7 separate regions of the Homo sapiens genome follow, and regions 1, 2, 3, 5, 6 and 7 are each linked to region 4. Evidence: promoter capture Hi-C in 16 types of primary human blood cells and fetal thymus (Javierre and others, 2016). All regions are on one chromosome and are shown on one strand. Each heading gives the region's core, a stretch centred on a gene start or on the middle of the fragment in contact. The rest is flanking DNA. Distances are from core to core; before and after follow the strand shown. Region 1 overlaps BLM (BLM RecQ like helicase). Region 2 overlaps CRTC3 (CREB regulated transcription coactivator 3). Region 3 overlaps BLM (BLM RecQ like helicase). Region 4 holds the start of ZNF774 (zinc finger protein 774). Region 5 holds the start of LOC105370969 (a long non-coding RNA gene). Region 6 holds the start of LINC01585 (long intergenic non-protein coding RNA 1585). Region 7 overlaps CRTC3-AS1 (CRTC3 antisense RNA 1).

Region 1 (3,419 bases), core at 332-2,831, 460 kb after region 4:
AAGAGAAAGGAAGGCAGACATTACCAAATTGTCATTTTCTTGTTAAGTCCATAAACAAAATCTTGTATGTGCTAATCCTCCTGCCAGAGTACCGAAATTAAAGGCATTAGAAAACGTTAGTTTAATTTTGTGGTTTTGAGTGCGCAAGTGATCAGTAAGTGCTCTTCAGTGAGAACATTTTCTTATTTCCATCATTTATTCCTCCACTTTGGGAAATACTCATTTCCTCAGTAACTCACACAGAGCCGGAGACCTTAAAAGGCATCTGGCTCAACACCCAGGGTTTTTGAAGAGGAAGCTTAGGCCTGGCCTGGGGAGGGCTTATCGGAGGACAACCCTGCCTGGTCTCGATTTCAAAGGTAGAAGCGGACACTGGCCTGCCCACACCTGCCCAGAGCACGTTCACTTCTGCATGTTGCCTGTGGAGACTCCTAAAAAACACGCATGGTCTTCCATCTCATCTTTATGTATTAGAACAAAGCAAACCATATTGCTATTGGCTCCCTTATTTAATTTTCACAACTTTTGTTTGTAAGAGTGAAGCACTTTGCAGCATCATCTGGAACCTAATCTGATAAGAAGCAGTAAAGCTCACACTTGTACCCATTTCCATGCTTGTTTTCAGTGAGCCTGGGTGTTTAAGATGGGATTTGTTGTTGTTGTTGTCGTTATGGAGTTTTGCTCTTGTCACCCAGGCTGGAGTGCAGTGGCACCATCTTGGCTCACTGCAGCCTCTGCCTCCCGGGTTCAAGCTATTCTCCTGCCTCAGCCTCCCAAGTAGCTGGGATTATGGGTGCACGCCACCACGCTGGGCTAATTTTTGTATTTTTAGATGGGGTTTCACCATGTTGGCCAGGCTGGTCTCGAACTCCTGACCCCAGGTGATCTACCCACCTTGGCTCCCAAAGTGCTGGGATGACAGGCGTGAGCCACTGTGCCCAGCCAAGATGGGATTCTTTTTTAAGCCCTACCAGCTAAAGCCAGTGCACTGTGTGACTTTGTGTTACCCTTGGAGCAGCCTCTTTTTGCTCCACTCTCCTTTCCACCGACCCAGTGTGCTCCCCGGATTGAGAGTCCCTGTGCAGTGAAAGAATAAATGTGGCTCTCTGCCAGCAACCTCACCTCCCCACCCTACCCTCAGAGTTTCACATCTTCAGAACAACACACAATGAACCAGTTGTGTTCTGGGCTCTCTGAGTGGGAGTAAATGGATGGCCCAGGTGAAATGGAGGCTGCTGTTGGCCGATTCATTCTGTAAATCAACATAAACAGCAGGTTTTCTCTCTGGGCTTAATTTCTCAGCAGGAAATCAGCATAGGGAAACTTCAGGCTGCATCTCTGCCAGTCTAGCAGATCTCTGCCAGTTCTGCAGTAAAACTGCCTTGGAGCCAGAGTTTAAGTCATGGAGCTCCATCAGAATGTCATTACCCACAGGCTGTGGCCCTATACCCTCAATTCAGACGGGAGGCTACTTGTATGCCCTGGTGCCGTGGAATTAGTGTGGGGCCTGACATCAGCCGGTTACAGAGCAGCAGGAAAGGCTTCTGCGGGTAATGCTGCCCACAGCCATCACTGTAAACATGCCGGCCCCATGGTTTTGTTTGTTTTTATTTTACTTAAGGGTGGGAAGGGAGCTGTTATCTTAAGGTCTGCAAGGAAAGTGAGATGCTGGAAGGACTTGGTAATCGGCTCTGGCGGCTTCTTCCTTGGCTTTAGAAGGCAGCGAGTGGGAGGGAGAGCTGGCAGATCTCTGGGTGTAGGCAGGTGAGCCAGGGAGCTGCTGGACACGGTCCTAACAGAAGGCCGCATCTGCAGCCTTCCTGGGGCTTCCTGGGGCTGGCCAGGAAGACGCCCAGCTTTGCCACTCCTGGCCACCCAGCTCCACCCCATGCATGCTCACCCCACAGCTGCCTTGCTCTGGACTGTGCAAGTCCAGTCATTCCGGGGTGCCTGTCAGCAGGGAGCTGGGGCCTTACAGCAAGGTGTTTCACTTCTTTTATTTGGTCAGAATAGATGAGGACATGTGGACCTCAGCTCCTCTTGCAGGCTCTGGTTGTAGGCTGCCGAAGGTGTGGGTGGAGAGAGGGGCGGTGGGTTGGTCACAAGTCAGAAAATTAAGAAACAGTCCTGCACATTTCAGAAAGACAAATCCAGAACAAATTTATATGAAGGGCCGCGGTCCTTTATTCCATAAGTAGTAAAGGAAACTTACCTTACCTAGGGGGCTCGTAGGCAGAAAATGCACAAGGACACATTAGGCCCAGGGAAGTGGTATTGTAGCTCTGTGCAGGTTGAGAGGAAGGTCATTCATTTTTGGTTTCATTTAACATTTTGATTTTTTTCTTTGTCACATTTCAGGGGGTCTGCCACATGTAGAAAGATATCTTCCAAAACGAAATCCTCCAGCATCATTGGATCCAGTTCAGCCTCACATACTTCTCAAGCGACATCAGGAGCCAATAGCAAATTGGGGATTATGGCTCCACCGAAGCCTATAAATAGACCGTTTCTTAAGCCTTCATATGCATTCTCATAACAACCGAATCTCAATGTACATAGACCCTCTTTCTTGTTTGTCAGCATCTGACCATCTGTGACTATAAAGCTGTTATTCTTGTTATACCATTTGAAGTTTTTACTCGTCTCTATTAATATTTAAATAAATGCTGGGGGGTGATAGTTCTTCTTTTTAAAATAAACATTTTCTTTTGAATAAGCATGTTTTGCTGCCGCTGCAAGTGTTGTGGCCGTTGTTTCTCAGAACGTCTGAGGCAGCAGCTGAATCATCTCAGTGCAAGAGCTTCTGAGCATAACACGAAACCCAGAAGCCAAAGGAAGAGCCACGCGTGGGCCCTTGTGAAACTAAAGCTTTTCGTGTAAGACAACACAAACAAAATTTAAAGACAAATGACGGGGAAAAGAGGAGAAAATATATTACAAAGGATTAGTATCCATCATACCAAATACCCGTGAACCAGTCAGAAACATCCCAGGGGGCAGGTGGACCAAGGATGTGAACAGGCTAGTCTCAGAAGAAGAAATACACATGCTCATGGCCCGGCACTGTGGCTCACGCCTGGGATCCCAGCACTTTGGGAGGCCGAGGCAGGTGGATCACGAGGTCAGGAGTTTGAGACCAGCCTGCCCAACATGGTGAAACCCCGTCTCTACTAAAAATACAAAAATTAGCCAGGCGTGGTGTACAGGCACGCCTGTAGTCCCAGCTACTCAGGAGGCTGAGGCAAGAGAATCGCTTGAACCCAGGAGGCGGAGGTTGCAGTGAGCCGAGATCGTGCCACTGCACTCCAGCCTGGGTGACAGAGCAAGACTCCGTCTCAAAAAAAAAAAAAAAAAAAGAAATATACATGCTCTGCAAATATGTGAAAAAGGTCAATCTCCATGAATAAAAATATGATAAA
Region 2 (3,925 bases), core at 1,288-3,787, 290 kb after region 4:
CACTGCATCTTTTTACTGGCCATCCAGTCAGCCGATGTGTAAGAGTAGGAAATACTGTGTCACTGGAGGCCTCCGTAGCATTGTGTAGTGTGCTCAGAACCACTGATCTCCGTCCGCACCGAAGGCGGGCCCGGAGTGGGAGGCTCGGCCTGGGGCGGCGGCACCGGAGAGGGCACCTCGATGCCTGCTCTGACCTGACCCAGAGGGCGAGGCCCTCCAGCGGGGGACATTCCCAGGCTGAGTGGACCCCACGGCTCTCTCCCACGCCTGGATTACGACATGAAGTTTTTACCACAAGCCCGAGGGCAGGCTTGAGTTAGGCAGACTGAAGGCTAATTTTCATTTTCTCCCAGCTGGTTTCTGCTGCTTCAGAAAAGTACACCTTTTCCTTATGGACCAGAGGAAGAGGAAGACCATTTTATCAGTCACTGAAAAGAGTCCCCTGGCACTGATGAGCCTGAAGAGAACTGTGCTCCTCCTCGGGGGCTGGGGAAGGAAGACAGGGACTGCAGGTGTCTCATACTCAGTGGCCTCCAGACAAACTCCAGACAAGCACAGACCTCCCCACTAAGAGCAGCCAGAGGGAGCTGGTGAGGCCCTAACCCCACCCACCGAGCAACTGAGCTTCCCCATCCCTCCCCAGAGCTGTGTCTCTGTGGGCTGGGAGTCTAATGTCACCCCCCTAGACCGTAAGCTCCTTGAGGGCAGGGACAGTGCCTTATCATTGTTGAACCCGTAGCACCTAACACGTGCGTGGCAGCACAGTCGTGTGCTGGAGTGAGTGCTGCAGAACCGTGCGTGCAGCGCATGATGAATGAGTGCGTCCGCCATGCCGTAAGGCAGGCTCACCTGTAGCTATCCCCTTCCCTGCCAGATCTTCTCAGAGCTTTAGCTTTTCTAGCACTCGTGCCTATGGTGAAGCATGCACTTTAATATGCTTTTAACACTAGGTGACCAAATCACAGTGAAGCCGGGCACTGCATTCTCCTTGGGCTGTGCTCCACGCGGGTGGGTGGGAGCTGTCTTCTGAGTACATCCGGAAGGGCTGAGCAGGTGAGTGCCCTGAGCATCCTGGCTGGGCCCCACCCAGGAAGATCTTCCTTCTCAGATCCACGTTTGGCTCTAAATTGCTTCAAGTAGAGATTCATTCTTTGAGGTTGAAAAAATAGTTTATAGTAAAACGAAGGCCTAATTCATGGAAGCATCATTAGTCATCAATACCTTCTCATAAAATAGATGGGCCAGATTTCCACCACCGCCTGCCTCCTCTAACTTGGGTGATGCCAGTAGGTTTGAAGGGGGCAGAGCACTGCAGGGGGAGGGGGGGGTCTAGGCTGTGAGAGGACAGGGTGGAGAGGAGGAGAACCCTGAAGGAGAGACGGAAGATGCCAGGACCTTTGCTTGGACAGCCATTGCCCTTCCAGGAGACCCTGGAGTGTACTGAGGGTTGCTGGACTGTTCCACCCAGAGGAGCAAGGCTGTACAATGAGGGTCTGAATCTGGCACACCTGTCCCTTATGTAAAAGGAGTCGTGGTCACAAGACCCTGGGCTGGTTAGCCTCTCCCGACCTCATTCCATTTCTATCTTCTGACCTTGCCTCTCATCTTTAAAATAACCCTCATGGGGTGCCCCTCCACCTTCCTCTGGAATCCAAGTATTCCTGTTTCACATTTGCCCCAAATCTTTGCTGTGGAATTGGGAAATCAAACCAGAGTCCTCCTCGCCTGATTTCCAGCTCAGGAAGGGCCTGCTGGCCTGCCCTGTTCCCAGTTACACTTTCAGATCCCTTTGTGCTCAAGATCTCAGAGGGGGTGGCTTTTTGTTAAAGAGCCTTCAGTCGCAATGCTACCCAGCACCCCATGTGCCAAAAGAAACCAGCTCCTGTGTCAAAGGGCTTCCAAACCTGATCTCACTCTCAACAGGCGATGGTGCTGATGTTTCAAGAATTGTGTTTTTATAAAACAGAGGTCTCAGCATAGTCACTCTTCACATAGTGCCTTACCCATGGGTATCGTCATATCCGGGTCCCAGTTCAGTTTGTCTGCACAGCAGCCACCCTGCCTGGCAACAGAGACCCCAAGACCTACACAGTGAACCCTACTGCCCCAAAGGCGTTCTCCAGGTGACTTGTGAAAACAGACCTCCGGGGAAGTGATTTATTGGGGGTGTACACTGGGGGCAATATGGTTTAGCACTGAATTCAATTTGTCCTTAGGTCTATGAGTGAGTCCGATCTTTTCTTGTGAAAGGTTTTGGGCATCGTACAACCCACTCTGCCTAGAAGGTGTGGAGGACTCACCACGGGCAGGGTCGCCCTGGCCCACAGCACGTGAGCCTGCACTCACTGCGGCCTTTGTAACAAAACCAGTTGTGGTCCTCAGCATTTGAAGCAGCTGCATACTTCAGAGTAAACTATTTTTCATTATTTAGTTTTGTCACAAGAAATCGACCATTGTACTACTCTCACTTACAGCAGTTAAACAGCATAGAACTAAAAACCTGTCTGCATTTCCATTTTTTCTTTCTGTATGGTTGTGGGTTTTAGGACATAGGGGGTTAGGAGAAGGGGTTTCTTGATCATGTCATGAATTCTCCTTTGTCCTGTTTCTCCTGTTTCATTTCTCCTCCGCCTGCTGTATATTACCTGAGCTGGTGTTGTATCTTCAAGTCCATATGCGTATTTGCAGACCTTTCCTGTTCCCACTCTTGTTGGCTCTTCTGATTTATGCACAGATGGTTCCCAGCATGTGTCCAGTGCTTCATGGATGGGACCATCCCAGCAACTAATCAGACTTCCTGCCAGTGTCCTAACCCCCAGGGCACCCTGTTCAACCATATTTAAAAATTGGAATTTGTATAAAGTTGCTTCCAAGTTTTATAATGCATCATTTTACATCTTTTGTAATTAAAAGCATCACAATGAGGTTGTCTCTGCATTTGGTGGTGTTTTTCTTCACTTGGGTGAGGGGTTGGTGGGGAGCCTTAATCTCACCGCCTCCTGCACGGCTCAGCCTGCAGCTAGGATTTGGAGCCTTGGCAAGGCAGGCCCTGTACCAGCTGTGGGTCAGGCCTTCTTGTGATACGTGAAGGGGCACTCAGTTCCCTTAGCTGGAGGCAGCTGGGTCTCCTGCCCCCACAGCCAGCACCCGCTCCACACCCCTGCCCACGGCCCTTCCTCCACCAGATACTCTGTCCTGGGTTGGCCTCTAGCCCTGTCCCTTCCCCAGACCCCCATCCCAGCAGGGTTCAACGCGAACAGCCACATCTAGCACTTGTCATAAAGGTGACTGTCTCCTGAAATCCTACCTGGAAATCCTGTTTCTGACTTTAACTTCCTGAGCCCCCATTTCCACTCTGGTCTACACACACCCTGTTCTTTGACCGCACTGAGAATTCTTCCGTGTCCCCTCTTCTCAGCCTGCCCGTCCTCTCCTAGCTTCCCTTGCTTCTGCCCGGGCCCACCTGGCTCGTGGCCTCCGTGGCACCCCCAGGCCCCTTCTCCTGCCACCACGCCACTCTTCCTCCTCAAGACCTGCCACCACGTCACTCGGGCTGAGCTTTCTGTTGCTGGGAGCCCTGCGGGAAGAACCAGCACTTCCAGGCTGTGCTGACCCAGCCCTCTCCTGCCACGTGGGGCACCCACGCCCTCCTCTCCTCAAGGCTCATCAGACCACATGAGGCCTTCTTGCCTCCCATCCAGGCCACCTGGGCCAGCTCCCGCCGTGTCCCAGCTGCTCCCCATTCCGTCCCATGGCCCGTCGCGCCTTCCCCAGCGTCCCTATGCCTTACGAGGTCCTGTTTCCACGTCAACCTGACCTTCCGCAAGGACTTGCTGATGTTCTAGGGCCTTCTACTTAGCCCTCTCTGATGGCACCTCCCCATCAGCCTGTGAAGATGCCCAGTCTCCTTCCTCAGAACAAACAG
Region 3 (3,953 bases), core at 54-2,553, 380 kb after region 4:
CGGTTTCACCATCTTGGCCAGGCTGGTCTCAAAGTCCTGACCTCAGGTGATCTGCCCACCTCGGCCTCCCAAAATGCTGGGATTACAGATGTGAGCCACCATGCCTGGCCAATCAATACTTCTTAATGATGGTATTCTCTCTCTCTCTCTCTGTCTCTGTCTCTCACGCACACATACACACACACGCGCGCACGCACGCACACACACACACACACACGCAGAGAGAGAGAGAGAGAGAGAGAGAGAGAGAGAGAGACTTTATTCCTAAATCCTGTATTTTATCTAATAGGAAAATACTAGAGGCATTTTTACTAAGATTGAGAAAAATATAGAGATACTCACCAACTCCACTTGTATTTAACATTGTACTGGGGGCTTAGCCAATGCAGTTAGATAAATCAATTAGAGGCACAAGATTTGGAAAATAAAAAGTAATATTGTCCCTACTTGCAGGTGATATGGTAGTGTGTCTGGAATACTGCAGAAAATCAATAATGAAACTAACTAAACAGAAAAGGAATTTTATAAGAATATGCAAAAATCAGTAGTCTTCATATACACAACAAGTTTGAATATATAATGAAGGGTAAAATCCCATTTACAGCAACAAGAAAAAGAGAAAATATTTAGGAATTTAAAAACATGTAAAACCTAGGTGAAGAAATCTTTAAAACACTTCTGAATAACAAAAATAGCCTTAAACAAATGAAATCTTTTGTTCTAGGACAGGACAACAACATCATAAAAGTGCCTAAGTTAATATATATATATATATATATATATATATATATATATTTAAGTTAATACATATACCTAAGTTAATATATAAATTTAATGCAATCTCAATATAAATATCAACAGAGTTCTGGCACTAGACAAGTTGATTCTAAAGTTCATATAGAAAAATAAACATATAAGAATAGGAAAACAGAAGAGCTACAAAGAGAAAGTAGACTTCCAGATATTGTAACATGTTGCAAAGCTTCTATCATGATAATATTGTGGTATAGACCAATGGTATAGAATGGAAAGTCAATAATTAGTCTCCTAAACACATGAAGAATTTAGTGTATGATAAAGGTAGTTCTGAAATTATTAGGGCAGAGATGGACTCTTTATAAATAGTGCTGGGACAACTTGTTAGCCACTTGAAAAAACAAAATTATATCTATACTTTATATCAGACACAGGAATAAACTCCAAATGAACCAGAAATCTAATTTTTTTTAAATTACCTACTAGAAGAATACATAGATGAGTTTTCTGTAACCTGGATGTGGAGAAGGGCAATAAAAGAGGGGGAAAAATTGGCTACATTGAAAAGCAAATTCTTGATTACAAAAATGAAAAACACCATAAGCAAATTTAAAAGATAGATGAGAAACCAGGAAAAAAATCTGCAAAATACATTTTAAAGACCTACTATCCCTAGTCTAAATTGAGAGAAAAAAATACTAAAATTTGGTTAAAAAGGCAGAATACATGAGCAGATACAATTTTTTAAAAAGATTCAAAAACCATCCTTAAATATGTGAAGAAAATATTCAATTTCACCTAAACAGGAAGTGTAAATTTAAAGCTGCACTGAAATACCGTTTCTCACCTATCAGCTCTGCACTAATTAGAAAGCTTCACAAGAAGCCCCATTGGTGAGGCTGTGAGGAATGCAAACTTGTAAAACCTCCTTTGAGGGAGAAGTTGGCAATCCAGCAGACTACACATGCATTTGCCCTTTGACCCAGCCATTCCACTTGTAGAAATATTCCCTAAAGATACATTTTCTTTTCTTTCTTTCCTTTTTTTTTGAGACAGGGTCTTGCTTGTTGCCCAGGCTGAAGTGCAGTAGTGTGATCTTGGCTCACTGCAGCTCAAACTCCCAGGCTCAATTGATCCCACCTTGGCCTCTGGAGTAGCTGGGACCACAAGTGCATGCCACCACGCCTTACTAATTTAAAAATTTTTTTTATAGAGACGGAGTCTCACCATGTTGCCCAGGCTGGTCTTGAACTCCTGGACTCAAGCAATCCTGTCTCTGCCTCCCAAATTGCTGGGATGACAGGTGTGAGCCACCGTGCCCGGCCTTACGTTTTCAACAGTAGGGAAATATGAATGCACAAAGTTATTTGTTGCAGCATTATTTGTAATTGTAAAATATCAGGGAATACCTTAAATGTCCATACAGGAAATTTGTTGGTAAATATCTACACAATGGAGTACTGTACAGCTGTAAAGAAGAATGAGGAAAATCTTTGCAAACGGGTGTAGAGTGATTTCTAACATGAATGGAAAGCGTACATACAGTGTGCTATTTTTTATGTAAGAAAGAAGGGAAAATATGAGACTCTAATGTCTGCTTATTTTGCAAAAAGAAAAACAGGAAAGATAAATCAGAAATTATTGAAATTGATAACCCACAGGAAGTAGATGGCAAAGGATGGAGAGGGAAGAACACTTCTCTGTGGGGAAAAACAGTCTTTTATGTAGTTTTAACTTTTAGAACTATGTAAATGTTTTATATATTCAAAAATCAAATCCACAAGAACAGTACAAACACAAACTAATCTAATTCAAATGATGAATGTAATCACCCTGAAGGTGAGGTGGGACTGACCAATCAAGTAACTTTTGAATATAGTACTTTAATTATGTACCCTTAATCTGAAGAAAGAAATGCAACTGAATTTTGAACTCTTCTTAGTAGGTTTTTTTTTTTTAGTGACAGGAGTGTAGCAATTTGAAATTACTTCCTATAGTTTCAGATTGAATAAATGAATAAATATATGATGGTTTTTTCTATGAATTTTAAGATAGATGGATAGATCAATGGATGTATAGCTGTAGATACAGAAATAGATAGAAGTGTTTATATTTCCTAGATCTGTCTACTAAAAGGGCCTAGGAGCAATGATATGCAAGTAGCAGATCATATCTAATGGCCAGGTCTTAGATTTTAAAGATTTTTCCTCATTAAAATAAATGAAGGCTGTTTGAGGAAATGGTGATTCTATGGCTGAAGCAGGAAAAGTAAATGAAGACCATGAATGTTGTGCCAGGTAATAAGAAAGTGCCTGATGGGAACACTTTAAAGGACAGAGGAACCAATGGATTAAAGAAGAAAACAAGAGACATTAGAGTATATCTTGAGACAATGAAAACGAAAACACAACATGCCAAAACTCATGGAATACAGTGAAAGCAGTACTAGAAAGGAAATTTATAGCTACAAATGCTTACATTAAAAAAGAAAGATCTGAAATCAACAATTTAACTTCACACTTAAAGGAACAGTAAAAAGAACAAACCAAACCCAAAGCTACAGAAACAAGGAAATAATAAATATTAGGGCAGAGATAAACAAAACAGGGACTAGAAAAGCAGTAGAGAAATTGACAAAACAGAATTGATTCTTTGAAATGATAAAAAAATTGATAAAACTTTAGCCAGATGGACTAAGAAAAAATAAGACAAATTACTAAAATCAGAAGTGAACAAGGGGACATTATAACTGATTTACAGAAGTAAAAAGATTTATAAGAGAATATTGTGAGCAAATGTATGCCAACAAATTTGATAACATAAATGAAATGGATAAATTCCTCAAAACACATAACCACCAAGACAGAATCATGAAGAAACAGAAAATCTGAACAGACCTATAACTAGTAAGGAGATTGAGTTAGTAATCAGGTATCACCCAACAAAGAAAAGCTCAGGGCCAGATGGCCTCACTGGTCATTTCTAACCAATATTTAAAGAAGAATTAAGTCCAATTTTCCTCAAGCTCTTCCAATTAATGATATATTTGATAAAGGGTTAATACCCAGGATATATAAAGAACTCCTCAGCACTTTGGGAGGCTGCCGGGACGGGAGAATTTCTTGAGCCTAGGAGTTGGAGACCAGCCTAGGCAACATGGTGAAACCCTGGCTCTACAAAAAATTTAAAAATTTGCC
Region 4 (3,607 bases), core at 396-2,895:
TGGTTATGTATGATTCCCGAGTAATCACAGTTCCCAGAACGATCTTTTTTTTTTTTCTTTCTTTTTTTCTTTTTTGAGACGGAGTCTTGCTCTGTCGCTCAGGATGGAGTCCAGTGGCGCGATCTCGGCTCACTGCAAGCTCCACCTCCCGGGTTCACATCATTCTCCTGCCTCAGCCTCCCGAGTAGCTGGGACTACAGGCGCCCGCCACCACGCCCGGCTAATTTTTTCTATATTTAGTAGAGACGGGGTTTCACCATGTTAGCCAGGATGGTCTCGATCTCCTGACCTCGTGATCCTCCCGCCTCGGCCTCCCAAAGTGCTGGGATTACAGGCGTGAGCCACCACGCCCTGCCCCCAGAACGATCTTGAGAACAGAATGTTCCCAATAAATATCCACTGGAAAATGCACCTTATTTTTGTTGAAGGAATGGTGGAATTAGCATCAAAGGGATCTTCAACATTAACTCGGGCCGGGCACGGTGGCTCACGCCTGTAATCCCAGCACTTTAGGAAGCCGAGGCGGGCGGATCACGAGGTCAGGAGATGGAGATCATCCTGGCTAACATGGTGAAACCCCGTCTCTACTAAAAATACAAAAAATTAGCCGGGTGTGGTGGCGGGCGCCTGTAGTCCCAGCTACTCGGGAGGCTAAGGCAGGAGAATGGTGTGAACCTGGGAGGCAGAACTCGCAGTGAGCCGAGATCGTGCCACTGCACTCTAGCCTGGGCGACAGAGCGAGACTCCGTCTAAAAAAAAAAAAAAAAAAAAACTCTATGGCTGGTAATTCTAAGCGTTTTATAATACATCACAAAATGTTCTTTTATTTTTCTAAATTGCACTGAATCAACAAACGGAGTAGACAGGCACATTTTCTTCACTTTAAGGAAAGACTTTGTTGTTTTTTAGCTAGGGGCCGACCCAAAGTGATCACTGGCTCTCACATGAGACCCAGGAGCCTCCCCAGTTTGAAGCCCGATATCACATTTCCCAGAATACTTGATGCCCTCGCCCGCCTCCTCTGGCTATCAACCAGACGGAAAGGGGATGTGCCTGGGAGTTTGATGCCAAGGGAAGGATGCGGAATGTCTGTTTTCTACTAAGGGCTTCTGCTGGGCCTTTCCAATGTCCAGTTTGAGTTGGTCTGGGACCTGGCCTCCGCAAACACCCTGCAGGCTCCGGCCGCCGGGGATGAGGTGGAAGACTGGGCAGAAGAGAGGCCGCAAAGGCCCGAGGGCTGAGCTGCTCTGCGCTGGGGAGGGGCGAAGTGCCAGAGCGCGGGAGACCTCATGGTGGGCACCAGGCTGCTCCGCGGTAGGTGGGTGAGGCCAGGAGATTCACATCTGCAGATGCCACAGTGAGGATACAGCATTTAGATCCCTCGGCTCCAAACAGGCGGTTCCGGGGGACCGGTAGCTGGGGAATTGGGTTTAGCACTTTCCAACGCTTGGAACTGGACATCCACGGCTCCGAGTCCTTTGAGGTCTTGCTCGGGACTACGTTTCCCAGAAGGCTAGGCGATAATTGACAGCTCTATCAGCCTATGGACAGAGAAAAATTCTAGCCATGGAAACTGAAAAGCCAATAGCAAGAGGATGGGGGCGGTACTTTCCGGCCGCTGGCTGTCGAAGCCGGAGTCCCACCTGTGTCCCCACAGCCCTGTCACGAATCCCGGTCGGGTTCTGGGAGGCACAGCCTCGGGGTTGCGGGCCGGGTGCGGCTCGGCGGTGGAGGACTCACTTCCTGCTCCATCCCCGGCTGGGCCCTGGGGCGGTGAGTGATTCAAGGAGGGAGACCGCGGCGGCAGCGGCGCGCTGCTGAGGGGCGTGGAGGGGGCTTGCCCGCCACCCAGACGTTTTCTCAGCGGGGTTCCCGCGCTGGCCTTTGGGAGCCCCCGGGTCTTGCTGGGCTGTGGGAGAGGTAGCTGTGGTCTCTATACCGTCGGCGGGATAAGTCATTCTCTTAATCAGTTTTCTTGCTTCTCGATGGTGGTCCCAGGGTTTCAGCTGATCTGTGACCCTCTGACCGCCGCACCCCGGTTAGGGCGCGAGCACCGAGAAGAAGAACGGGGTTCGGCCCCACGCGTGCAGTCATGTTCCTATTAATAAACCCGGTGAACGCACTGGAGCTTCTCACAGTGGCACTTAGTCACAGCCCCTCAGCGCTGTGGGGCCTTTGAGGTCACCTGTGCATGGGGAAAGGGACGGGCTGGGAAACAGGGTTTCTATAACCGTGGCTAAGACGTCTCCCCTCCTCAGTGGCGCTGTCTCCAGCAAGTGGGCCCTGCAGCTGTGTTTTGTAATGAATGTAGAAATAAAAATTATACTCAAAACTCTTTTTTTTTTTTAGACGGAATTTCGCTCTTGTTGCCCAGGCTGGAATGCAATGGCGCTATCTCCTTTCACTGCAGTCTCCACCTCCCGGGTTCAGGCGATTCTCCTGCCTCAGCCTCCCAAGTAGTTGGGATTACAGGCGTGTGCCACCACACCCGGCTAATTTTGTATTCTTAGTAGAGACAGGGTTTCACCATGTTGGCCAGGCTGATCTCGAACTCCTGACCCCAGGTGATCCGCCCGTCTCGTCTTCCCAAAGTGCTGGGATTACAGTCATGAGCCACAGCACCTGGCCAATACTGAAAACTCTTATTACAATTTTTACTTTCTAATTACATTATTGTTGTTTGTTAAAGTTTTAAACCAGAGAGATGGTTTTTAGATCCTTAAAAACTCAATACTTTATAAATGACCAATAATAATGTCTGTAAATACAAAAATATTTCCCCCAAAAGTGTGTGTGTGTGTGTGTGTGTGTGTGTGTGTGTGTGTGTGTTCCAGTAGTAAATAGGTGATTTGTAGTGGGACAAAAGATGTGAAAGAGTAAAACTTCTTCACCACAGTCTGGTCCTTCCTCCCTTGAAATGCAATATTCTTTGTAGTGGGTGGTCATGCTGGCTGCATTTTTTTTTTTTTTAAGGGAGAGACAGGGGCTCACTCTGTTGCTAGGCTGGGGTGCAGTGGCGCCATCATAGCTCACTGCAGCCTGGAACTCCTGGGCTGAAGTGATCCTCCCACTTCAGCCTCCTGAGTAGCTGGGACCACAAGTGCATGCCACCATGCCTGGCTGATTTTTAAAAGTTCTTTGTAGAGAAAGAGGTCTCAATATGTTGCTGAGGCTGGTTTATTGGAAACTTTTTAAGGGAAAAAACATTATCTTAATTTCTATGTGACTCCTATGCCTGGCAACATATTAATTGTTGAATAAATGACTGATCCATCCAGTAATTCACTCTTGACTATCCTCCAAAAAGTAATGTTTTTCATGATATTGCTGTCGATTTATTAATATATTAATGATTGGTTTCAGCCCCTAAGAGTTGTGTTTTGTGCTTATTCCCACTTTCACTTATTTTTACAACCTATCCATGTCTTCTTTTTTTTAAAAAAAAAATGTCTTTTTCAGTCTTATTTCTGACTCCATTAAGATCTTGAAATAGAATGGTATCCAACACAGTTCCCTTTGGGGTTCTGTATAATCTGTCCCTTGAGGTTGACACCAAATCTGCAAGCCAAGAAGTTAGCTGCTCCCATAACTAATATGAGTATAGTTA
Region 5 (3,641 bases), core at 23-2,522, 490 kb after region 4:
GTTTCACCATGTTGGTCAGGCTGGTCTTGAACTCCTGACCTCAGGTGATCTGCCCGCCTCGGCCTCCCAAAGTGCTGGGATTGCAGGCATGAGCCACCGCGCCCGGTTCAGCCCCCTTCTCTTTCAGCTCAGGCCCCCCTGCCCCTGCAGAGCCTTGGGAAGTGTCACCCCACACCAACTCCACCAGCTCCTACGAAAGCACCCCCAAATCATACCCTCTAGGCACCGCAGCAAAAGCAGCTTCAGGGCAATCCCCCAGCACAACCTCACCCCTTCCTGAGACTGGTGGGTGAGCTGAGGTCACCCGCCGCTGCCAGCAGGGCTGGGTAAATCTCGGAGCAGGCGGGGGCGAGGGCGGGGGCTGTCACCGCGGTGTTGCCTGACGCACCCTCCTCCCCAGCTCAGGAAATTGTGAGGTGAACTCTTCCCCTCCAGAGCGCTGTCTGCTGTGAAGGCGGCTCAGGCCCCCAACACACACATAGCAGGTGACAGGTAGGGCCCAAGCACTGGAGTCCCCGCTCCTCCCTGAAGACCTATCAGGGCATCTCTGGGACTGTGTTCCTGCTCTCCCTGCTCTGCACGCTCCCCCACCCTACAGTTCCCACGGGGCCAAACTTCGGTCAGAATCACCTTTATTGCACAGCCGCTCTGTACGCCAGGGGCTCATCACACATACAAGGTCGGTGGATTGTCCCCATCTTACAGATGAGGGAGCGGAGGCAGGGCGTGCAGAAGGGGCCACTCGTGGCCACGGAGCGGGGACTGGCAGGCCCATTGTCGTCAGCGGACTCCTCAGCCCCAGTGCCAGGCAAGGACTAGAGCCATGGAAAGCAGGGACGCTGAGTCCCTGGGGCGTTTGGGGCATCCCCAGCTGACGCATTTGTTGCAGCCTCTAGGGGCATGGAATAGGCAAAGTGCCCACATGGGGGTGCAAGAACTGATGCCCCCACCCCCCACTTTGTGAGTACACCCCATGGAACCTCGTTCTTTTTTTGAGACAGAGCCTCACTTTGTTACCCAGGCTGGAGTGCAGTGGCATGATCTTGGCTCACTGCAACCTCCGCCTCCTGGGTCCAAGCGATTCTCCTGCCTCAGCCTCCCAGGTAGCTGGGATTACAGGCATGCACCACCACGCCCAGCTAATTTTTGTATTTTTCGTAGAGATGGGGTTTCTCCGTGTTGGCCAGGCTGGTCTCAAACTCTTGACCTCAGGTGATCTGCCTGCCTCAGCTTCCCCAAGTGCTGGGATTACAGACATGAGCCACTGCACCCAGCCCCAAACCTCATTCTTTTTATGGGGTCATTCTTTGTATGGACGTCCAGAATCACCAATCCCCTACTGTTGGACATGCAGGTTATTTCTAGTCTTTTGCTAAGACAAGCAGTGTTGTGATGACTACACTATCCTACATCCCTTGGCATGTGGGTGTGTGTAGGATAAATGTTCTGGGCACCAGGCTCCAGCAGGCCCCACGAACAGGACTCTGGGCCTTATGCCAGGAGGGGGAAGATTCAAAGAGGGCCCCTCACCTGGGTCTGACCCAAACCCACACCAAAGCCAGCAGGTCATCCAGAGCTGATTCCCTGGGAAGCCTGCCCAGGAACCACCGTCCGTCGGGCTTTCTTATTGTAAGAGCTTTTTTTTTTTTTTCCTCCTTTGGCAGAGCACAGCGCTGGGCTCCAGCCCTGATGCAGAGGTACAAAGCTCGTCTGGGCAGATTGTTATGCAAATCAAAAGAGGAAGCAGAGCTAGGGGAGCCGAGGAGCTCCTGCTGGGCTCTGCCAGGGAAGAAGCCGCAGTAGGAGCCCCTACGTAGGCCCTGCAAGAGGCCTGGCGTTCAGGAAAGGGCCCGCTGACCATCCAGTGCAGGGAAAGGAGTCCAGCTCTGGCCTCTGCCCCTCAGCTCCACCTCCTGCATTCCTAGGAGTTCTCCAGAGGATCTGATGGGAGCTCAGAACCGGTCCCAACAGGTACTGTGACGCGATGGCCATTTTCCTTCCCTTTACCACTGTGCCCCCCTCCCCCCACTGCAGGGACGTCCCCTGGGGCGTCTCTGTGCCCATGCCCCATTGGGCGCCTCCTCTCAGCCCAGCCCCCTCCACACTGTATTGTCTCCTTAGCCGTGAGCTCCATGAGAGCAGGGTGTGCCCAGGTCACTGTTGTCTCCCCAGTGCCCGGCACAGTGCCTGGCACATCATAGATGCCCCGTGCTCCTACACCAACGAACTCCCCTGACAGCACCACATCCACGGGGAGCTAGGCCTCAGGGAACAAAGTGGTGCCTGGCTGAGGCACCCACGCAGGGCCTGTTCTTTTGTTTGAGACGGAGTCTCACTCGTTACCCAGCCCAGATTGCAGTGGCGCAATCTCGGCTCACTGCAACCTCCACCTCCTGGGTTCAAATGATTCTCCTGCCTCAGCCTCCTGAGTAGTTGCGATTATAGGCGTGCACCACCATGCCCGACTAATTTTTGTATTTTTAGTAGAGACGGCTTCACATGTTGGCCAGGCAAGTCTCAAACTCCTGACCTCAGGTGATCCACCCACCTTGGCCTCCCAAAGTGCTGGAATTACAGGTGTGAGCCACCGTGCCTGGCTCGGACTTGTTCTTGAGGATGACGGAACGGGGGTTTTGCTGTTAGGCCAGCCAACAAAATGGACAAGAAAGACGGGGGAGAGAAGTGAGATCCTTCCCGCCAGAGCCTGAGGCTAATGCAGGCCGTGCTGGGCCTCATGCTCCAGGCCAGCCTGGAAGAGCCCAAAGCCAGTTTCCTTCCAATGCTGCATATATTACCCAGCATTCTTAGATGGAAAGTCCAGTTTCTTTTGCTTTTTTTGTGTATGCACTTCAGGAATTTTTTAAGCTAATTGACTGAAGGGCTCATGTGCCTAGGAATAGCAATCCTAATAAGCTTTTGCGGAATCTCCCTGGTTTCAGACCAAGGCTGTGAATGTCCCAACTCACTTCTGTTCTTGGTGAGTTTTGCTTGTGTTTGTGAACGAGGTGAATTCATTAAACACAGCAGTGGCCCCTGCCCAGTGCTGGCTCCCTACAATGACCACTTCAATTGCACTGACCCAGATGCAATGGATTCCACCGCAGAAGTGCATTTAACTCAAATGCAAACATAACTGGAAGGTGACACAAGTCCTGAAATCCCTGGTTGTGCAGACTCATCAGTGCCTAGCCACTGGTCACTAGCATGTTTTCATTTTTCTCCAGCTCCCTCCACCCTTCATGAACGGGGGCTGGAAAATGTGGTCTGCTCTGATAAGGATTTGCGTCAGGCTACTGGCTACTCAGCAGCCGAGAAGAGCAAGCCTCCAGGCCTCTGCACGCGTGCCTTCTGCCCGGTGAGCCTCTCACTATCGTCCTTCTAAAAGACACTTCAAAAAGAGGCAAAATCATGCCTTCCATACATATATTAAAAAAAGAATATGTGTCAAATATTTTATTCTACTCCTAAACCAATTTAAGGAAACCAGGCAGATGTTACAACTGGTTCAAATGAAATCCTAAGAACAGACACATTTAATAATCAGGAATATGGAAAAGAACATGCAAATGGGAGCTGGGCACAGCGGCTCATGCCTGTAATTCCAGCACTTTGGGAGGCCGAGGTGGGTGGATCACCTGAGG
Region 6 (3,558 bases), core at 707-3,206, 310 kb after region 4:
TGATTTCGCTAAGATTTTATGAGGCACCTCCTATCCTTTAATAGGTTCCTCTGTAGCTTAAAAGCAGCTAAAGAGCAGTCTGTTGCTTGTAATTAAGGACTCCTACCAGTACACGAAGGGAGAAAAGCAATAATCAAATAAATTACTTTCAGATAGAGATCAGTGCTAGGAGGAGGTCAGCACAAGGTGATGTAAGACAGAGTGACAGGTGGGGTGAGGGCTACACTTGATAAGGGGTCAGTGAAGCCTCTCTGAGGAGGTGACGTTAGGCTGAGACCCAAACAATGAGAAGGAACTAGCCATAGAAAGATCTGGGCGAGGAGACTTCTAGACACGGGGAGCAGAAAATGTAAAGGATGAGCTTCAGATGTTGATGGATGTAGGGAGGGTTGATGTGTTTGGAGTTTAGTGCAGGTGAATAAAGAGGAACATAATGAGATTGGAAAGTAGGTAGGAGTCAGTTCATGCCAGGCCTTGCAGATCATGGTAAGACATTTGGATTTTATTCTGAGGTTAGTGGGAAGCCATTAGAGAGTTTTAAACAGGACATAATATAGTACCTGGGGTAGCCAGCCTCCAAAACATCCTCCAGTGATCCTTGCATCCTTGTATTTACACTCTTGTGTAGCCCCTCTCACATTGACTAGGGCTGACCCAATAGGATGCTGCAATGTGACGGTATATAACTTTCAAGGATAGGTCATAAAAGACATTGTGACTCTGCCTTGGTCTCTCAAATGTCTCCCTCTGGGGAAGCCAGCCACCATGTTGTGAAGATACTCAAGCAGCCCTATGGAGAGGCCCACACACTGGGGAGGCACTGCGGCTTTCTGCCGACAGCCTTGTGAATGAGACACCTTGAAAGAGGATCCTCCAGCCCCAGCCAAGCTTTCAAATGGTTCCAACTCTGACATGCTGACAACTTCATGAGAGGCCCTGAGCCAGAACCACCCAAACTCCTGACCCATTAGTGTGTTATGTAACAAATGTTTGTTGTTTCATGCCACTAAGTTTTGGGGCAATTTGCTACCTCTAGCCATTGTTCCCAGCTGGTGTGTAGTCTGACTGGCAGGTGCCCATGCTTTATTAGTGGTTTGATATTTTGACTATCGGCCCTGAGTAGGAGGAATGACACAGAGAGGAGATAGAGTTGTGAGTGAGAGGAGGCCAAATCGTGGTGTCAGAGCGAGAAGCAGCACCCTGGGGAGGGCTGAGTCACTTGTGCTGTCTGGAGGAAGGCGGAGCAAAGATCTGCAGCCCAGCTGACTGTGGTCTCAGCTTTTCTAGCCTCCAGGCTTTCTCCCGGGTTCCTAAGTCTGTATGTGCTCACTGGAAATGCCCCATGACTTGGGGTGACATGGGTGAGTTTTCTTCCTCCTTCCTCCCAGAGCCACGCCAGACCTGATGCTGGAGGGCTGGGCTCTTGTCCTAGTTCCCCGTCCTGGGCTGGGCCCAGGGCACCGGCCAGTGGGAGAAACTGCCTTCTCCGCCTCCTACATGCACTGGTGGTCACACCTCGCCCCACATCAGCCTCTCCAGCCAGGTAGGGTGGGAACCACAGGAAACGAGCCCCCTTCTTCTCTTCCCACCAGGAGTGGCCGGGGGGTGTGGATTCAGGATCCTGAGCTCTGCTCTGCCTCCGTTGTTCTGGCCGTGCCTGAGAGTTGGTTTGGGTTGATTTCAAGGGCACTTTAATGAGATTTAGCAATAGGAGGTGGTAGAATTTCCACTCCCTCTAATAACTTCCCAAAAGCCAGACACATAGCATTTTTTTTCCTTTTTGTCATTACCCTTTTTGGCTTTAATTACAAAACATATGAAATAGAAAACATTCACAAACAATACAAAACTATAAAAAGTGAGTACCCCTTTCTCTTCCCACTCTCTGATTATTTAGATACCCTCCAGTTAAAACTCTCTCACAAACAGGTCTGAAAGGAGCATGCAAGCAGCCCCCCCACATTGCAGTTTTGCTTTCTGTGGTTTCAGTTACCTGCGGTCAACCACCATCTAAAAATAGGTGAGTGCAGTACAATAAGGCATTTTGAGAGAGACAGAGAGAGAGAGAGAGAGAGAGAAACCACATTCACATCAGTTTTATCACAGTATATTGTTAGAATTGTTCTATATTATTATCAGTTATTATTATTATTTTTGAGATGGAGTCTCACTCTGTCGCCCAGGCTGGAGTGCAGTGGTGCAATCTTGGCTCACTGCAACCTCCGCCTCTTGGGTTCAAGCAATTCTTCTGCCTCAGCCTCCCAAGTACTGGGATCACAGGCACCCACCACTGTGCCTGGCTAATTTTTGCATTTTTAGTAGAGACAGGATTTCACCATGTTGGCCAGGCTGGTCTCAAACTCCTGACCTCAGATGATCTGCCTGTCTCAGCCTCCCAAAGTGCTGGAATTACAGGCGTGAGCCACTGCGCCCAGCCTTAGTTATTATTGTTAATCTCCTGCTACACTAACTCCATGGCCTGAACAGTCCACCCCTTTGGCTGCTTAACATCGTCATCTGCCTTCTTCCATCCTTGCACTCACAAACAACAGAACCCAACAGCAAGTGGAGAGATGTTTTTCAAAAAGGAAATAGTTGTGAAAAGAGTTCATGGCTTTGCTCCAAAACTTCAGGGCTTTCTGGCATTCTCTTTTCATCTTGCTCATATATTTATTCATTGCCTGCCTAGGGCATCTGCTGGGTAAGCTATGAGAGTGGGGATCTTGTTCATCACCATATCCTCAGGACCTAGAACAGTGCCTGGCACATCATAGGTGCTCAACAAATGTTAAATTAATGAATTGTGCCATGAAGTTCCTTCCTATATTGAATAGAGCTGACCTGTGTAGCCAATAGGGTATTGCAAAAATGACAGTGCATTTCATGAAGCCTCAGTTTCCATGGCTAAGTGCCTCTTCCTTTGGTTATTCCCAATTTCAGATTCCAGAGAAGGGGAATATGATTGGCTCATCTTATCTGTCTGTACCAAGCCATGCCATAGATTGCCAGGTGGCCTATAAATTGGAAGCTTCAGGGAGATGTGTCTGCCTACCTTAGTCAATTAGAAGTCCCATGGCCGCTCAGACACTGTGGTTGACAAGTCTAGTATGATAGGGTCACATCTTATCGGAGGAGTGATTCTAAAATCTCTACGTAAGACTTTATCCCATACAGAGTTACTCATGAAAATCCCTTAAATTACCCATACATTTATTTATTTATTTATTTATTTATTTTATTTTATTTTTTTTTTTGAGACAGAGTCTCGCCCTGTTGCCCAGGCTGGAGTGATCTCGCGATCACTGCAATCTCTGCCTCCCGGATTCAAGTGATTTTCCTGCCTCAGCCTCCCGGGTAGTTGGGATTACAGGCATGCACCACCATGCCTGGCTAATTTTTTTTTGGTATTTTTAGTAAAGACGGGGATTCAGCATGTTGGCCAGGCTGGTCCTGAACTCCTGACTTCAGAGGATCCGCCCACCTCAGCCTCCCAAATTGCTGGGATTACAGGCGTGAGCCACCGTGCCTGGCCAAAAAATACACATCTTTAGACATGAA
Region 7 (3,669 bases), core at 1,125-3,624, 330 kb after region 4:
ACCACTGTAGTCCAAGGACTGCACTGCAGCACTGTCAAGCTTTCTTGACTATGAGTCAATAACTTCTTTTTATTGTTTAAAGTAATTTTCAGTTACAAGAGGCAGATTCCAATTGAAGCACTCTATCACAGCCATATCCATCTAGGCTGCAGTCATCGGATGACATGTTGCTCTCTCTTTCTATCTCTCTCTTTCCCACAGGAGAGATGCAGCCATCCCAGAGTATGTGCGTAGTCATGGTTTATTTGATGGTGACTGTGTGATCACTGTGCACTCTCATTCTGGCTCCCTTTCCAGAGCAGCATTAACACAGGTGATACAAACTTCCCTTTCCGCCACTGTTGACACTAAAGGAAATGAGAACATCTGGGTTTAAGAGGTAATGGAAGCACCACTTTTTTTTTTTCATAAAGGAAACCTCTAGAAGTCACATGATTTGGCGGTACCTTTTCTTTTTTCTTTTCTTTTTTTTTGAGACGGAGTTTTGGTCTTGTTGCCCAGGCTGGAGTGCGGTGGCACAATCTCGGCTCACTGCAACCTCCACCTCCCAGGTTCAAGCGATTCTCCTGCCTCAGCCTCCTGAGTAGCTGGGATTACAGGCATCCACCACCACACCTGGCTAATTTTTTGTATTTTTTAGTAGAGATGGGGTTTCACCATGTTGGCCAGGCTGGTCTCAAACTCCTGACCTCAGGTGATCCACCCGACTCGGCCTCCCAAAGTGCTGGGATTACAGGTGTGAGCCACCATGCCCGGCCAAGGAACATTTTCATCTTTTGATCACAAGCTCCTCTTTCAACTTACAAATACGAATTTTAACATACTTGCATTGTTCTTTTTGTTGCTCAAATCATCCTGTATTTGGTCAGAGAGAGCCTTTTCACATGAACCCCTGTGTCCTTTTAATCAGACTCCATAGTGATGATACCTTCCTTGTTCAGCTGCCCCAACCTTGGACTGGCCATTTGGCAGGAGCCCTAGTTTCTTTTAGCAGAGAATGACATACAGAGACCATGATCTAGGCAAGATATATACTTTTTTTTTTTTTTTTTTTTTTTGAGACAGGATCTCACTGTCTCCTTGGCTGGAGTGCATGGCAGTCACGACTTACAACAGCCTTGAACTCCTGGGCTCAAGGGATCCACTAGCTTCAGTCACCTGAGCAGCTGGGACCACAGGCACATACCACCATACCTGACACTCTCTCTCTGTCTCTCTCTATATATATTTGTTGTTGTTTGTTTGTTTGTTTTCGTAAAGACAGGGTCTTTTGTTTTGAGACAGATCTCACTCTGTTGCCCAGGCTGGAGTGCAGTGGCACGATCTCGGCTCATTGCAACCTCCGCCTCTCAGGTTCAAGTGATTCTCCTGCCTCAGCCTCCTGAGTAGCTGGGACTACAGGCACGTGCCACCACGCCCAGCTAATTTTTGTATTTTTAGTAGAGACAGGGTTTCACCATACTGGCCAGGCTGGTCTTGAACTCCTGACCTTGTGATCCACCTGCCTCCGTCTCCCAAAGTGCTGGGATTACAGGCGTGAGCCACCGTACCCGGCCAAGACAGGGTCTTTTTTTATTTTTCATTTTCTCAGCCTGAATATGTTTGTAGACAAGGTCTTGCTATGTTGCCCAGGTTCTACTCTTTTTAAACACAAAAATTACATAATTTTTCAGACAATCTGTTTTGCCATATTGAGAGGCCTTTGCATTAAGTCTGCTAATGCCCTGACAACCACCACATCACTTGGGATTTGGAGTCCCTTTGGGTTAGAGCAGGGTTTCTCAACTTCGGCACTATTGACATGTGGGCTGGATCATTTTGTTCTTTGGAGGCTGTTCTGACACTGCAGGTAGATGCCAGTAGCACCTCCCTAGTTGTGGCAACCAAAATGCCTCCAGACATTGCCCAATACCCCTGGGGGTGCCAAAATCATCCCCCGTTAAGAATCACTGGATGTCCTCTGGGATTCTACGGAAAACTTCCTGGAACAAACCAGAGAAAATCTGACTCCTGATGTCACATCCATGCCAGCTTCCTGCCTCTGTTTCCCCATTTGTCCAGTTGGGATCATGACTACAAGATAAAACAGCATATGGTGGGAAGCAATGGGACCTGCAAGGAGTCATCGTGGTACTCATGAGGAGCAGACATAAGGTCACAAGCAGCACTGCCCTGGAACTGCATGGCACTGTGCTGGCTTTGCCAAGGTGGTAGGGCATCCCACTGAACTGACTCAAGTCCCCAGGATTGCTCCAACTCTTGTATTCCCTCCAGGCCTCTTTTTAATGTTAGCGTTGTTTAAGATCTTTCATTTTACTGTCAAAAAGAGAAAGTCTCATTTAATTCATACCAGATGCTGAGTGAGTCGTCATGAATCAATACAACATTATCCAAAAACCACCAAAATGAATCATAAGGATAAACAGGATTTTTTTCTCCCTGCAAAACAGTGACTAAAATAGTGCCTTGCCCTTTTAGAAAAAAAAAAAAAAAAATCTGAGGTTAGGAGGAGGCCTAGGGCCCTGCTCATGTAATCCACGTGTCCGTGAGCATGGAATGGTTCAACTGCAGGTCCTAGGGAGACAGTGTATGAGGCCTGCAGCTAAGCCAGGCAGACACGGGCTGGAGAAGGTGTCCCAGAGTTAGGATTCAGGAATGGGGGTCCAGCAGCCCCCTGAAACTTATGCAATCCTCTGTTTCCATCCCAGTCTCAAAGCTGTCTGTGACTCAGAGAAGTTTTGTCACCCTCATTATGGATGAAGAGGCTCTTGGGAACTGTGGAGGGTCTTCTGGGAGGTGAGCATCCCAGAATTCTTCTGCTGCTGATAAAGCTAAGGCAGCCCATCAGCCTCATGAGCACTTATTTTCTCAGTCCTTCCTCTACTGTGATCCTGAGAATGCACTCTGAGTATGTAGGGGAGTCAGAAATGGTGTTTGTCCTCTCTGGGGCAGCAGGGAGGCTGGAGAGGGAAGGCTCTGGGCCCACCTAGGCACTCAGACTCTGACCCTTGAATGGAGGAAGCAAAAGCCAAGAAGAGGTTGGGGCTGACACATCTTTACAGTGTGGCCAGATGAGACTCTCAGTTGGTTCCAGCTTCTAGGTCCCCACGGCCTCCCTGTTTTCTGTCTTTTCCAGACCAGGCTCTTCAATTTCCCCTTCCATGTTGTGAGGGACTCCATAGCCTTCTTGTGAATTTCCCTTGGGGTCGGGGGTCAGTGTCTGTTTCTTGCCACCGCAGCACCAGGCTGGTTGTTTCTGTAAGAGGCTCTGAGAGCTGCGCCTCCCACATCCCTCACCTCCCAGACTTGTGCAGGAGTAGTCAGGAACATGCGGAGCTGGAACCACACTCGATGGCACCCACGAGGTCAAGTCAGAAGGGCTCCCTTCTGGTAAGGCAGAATCAGAGCCAAGGAGGCTGAGCGTTCCCTGCAATCACTGCCATCACTGATGAAGGAACTGACTCATCTGATGTGGGCCATTGAGGAATGTGGAGGTTGGACGAGTGACCACTAGGACCTTCAGCAATAGAGAAAATGGAACTGGCTGGGCACGGCGGCTCATACTTGTAATCCCAGAACTTTGGGAGGCTGAGGTGGGAGGATCACCTGAGGTCAGGAGTTCAAGACCAGCCTGGCCAACATGGTGAAACCTTGTCTCTACTAAAAATA

Evidence for each region. The method cuts DNA at HindIII sites, captures the fragments that hold promoters and counts their contacts. A CHiCAGO score of 5 or more calls a contact.
Region 1: a contact is called between a fragment that was not itself captured here and the fragment with the promoter of ZNF774 in region 4, in 4 of 17 cell types (total CD8 T cells, total B cells, naive CD8 T cells and 1 more). The highest score is 7.1, in total CD8 T cells.
Region 2: a fragment that was not itself captured here is called in contact with the fragment with the promoter of ZNF774 in region 4 in 5 of 17 cell types (naive CD8 T cells, naive CD4 T cells, fetal thymus and 2 more); the score reaches 7.5 in naive CD8 T cells.
Region 3: a fragment that was not itself captured here is called in contact with the fragment with the promoter of ZNF774 in region 4 in 4 of 17 cell types (total B cells, total CD8 T cells, activated CD4 T cells and 1 more); the score reaches 5.5 in total B cells.
Region 5: a contact is called between a fragment that was not itself captured here and the fragment with the promoter of ZNF774 in region 4, in 4 of 17 cell types (total B cells, monocytes, naive B cells and 1 more). The highest score is 9.5, in total B cells.
Region 6: a fragment that was not itself captured here is called in contact with the fragment with the promoter of ZNF774 in region 4 in 5 of 17 cell types (fetal thymus, naive CD4 T cells, naive B cells and 2 more); the score reaches 7.0 in fetal thymus.
Region 7: a contact is called between a fragment that was not itself captured here and the fragment with the promoter of ZNF774 in region 4, in 6 of 17 cell types (fetal thymus, naive B cells, naive CD8 T cells and 3 more). The highest score is 8.1, in fetal thymus.

The regions. Positions count from the first base shown.
Region 1 is chr15:90,812,744-90,816,162 of GRCh38, forward strand. BLM (BLM RecQ like helicase) reads left to right here. Exons shown (of 22, transcript NM_000057.4): 22 at 2,359-3,419. The coding sequence ends at 2,536. Among named protein-coding and RNA genes, the nearest start is that of FURIN, 54 kb to the right of the region's middle. RefSeq lists a silencer at 1,934-2,043. The HindIII fragment of the contact is 2,570 bases long and covers 297-2,866 here.
Region 2 is chr15:90,642,409-90,646,333 of GRCh38, forward strand. It overlaps CRTC3 (CREB regulated transcription coactivator 3), which reads left to right. Exons shown (of 15, transcript NM_022769.5): 15 at 1-2,937. The region is part of intron 2 of CRTC3-AS1 (CRTC3 antisense RNA 1); the gene reads right to left. Among named protein-coding and RNA genes, the nearest start is that of LINC01585, 16 kb to the right of the region's middle. The HindIII fragment of the contact is 9,655 bases long and covers 1-3,925 here.
Region 3 is chr15:90,734,478-90,738,430 of GRCh38, forward strand. The region is part of intron 1 of BLM (BLM RecQ like helicase); the gene reads left to right. Among named protein-coding and RNA genes, the nearest start is that of BLM, 19 kb to the left of the region's middle. The HindIII fragment of the contact is 647 bases long and covers 981-1,627 here.
Region 4 is chr15:90,350,639-90,354,245 of GRCh38, forward strand. ZNF774 (zinc finger protein 774) reads left to right here and starts at 1,646. Exons shown (of 4, transcript NM_001004309.3): 1 at 1,646-1,773. The HindIII fragment of the contact is 4,226 bases long and covers 1-3,607 here.
Region 5 is chr15:90,837,930-90,841,570 of GRCh38, forward strand. It overlaps LOC105370969 (a long non-coding RNA gene), which reads left to right and starts at 1,797. Exons shown (of 3, transcript XR_932610.3): 1 at 1,797-1,971; 2 at 3,225-3,355. RefSeq lists enhancers at 2,410-3,064, 3,090-3,384. The HindIII fragment of the contact is 3,277 bases long and covers 1-2,911 here.
Region 6 is chr15:90,659,464-90,663,021 of GRCh38, forward strand. The region is part of intron 2 of CRTC3-AS1 (CRTC3 antisense RNA 1); the gene reads right to left. It overlaps LINC01585 (long intergenic non-protein coding RNA 1585), which reads left to right and starts at 771. Exons shown (of 3, transcript NR_120371.1): 1 at 771-1,361; 2 at 1,930-2,020. RefSeq lists enhancers at 927-1,455, 1,678-1,727, 1,868-1,917, 2,578-2,637. The HindIII fragment of the contact is 2,140 bases long and covers 887-3,026 here.
Region 7 is chr15:90,678,268-90,681,936 of GRCh38, forward strand. The region is part of intron 2 of CRTC3-AS1 (CRTC3 antisense RNA 1); the gene reads right to left. Among named protein-coding and RNA genes, the nearest start is that of LINC01585, 20 kb to the left of the region's middle. The HindIII fragment of the contact is 4,674 bases long and covers 38-3,669 here.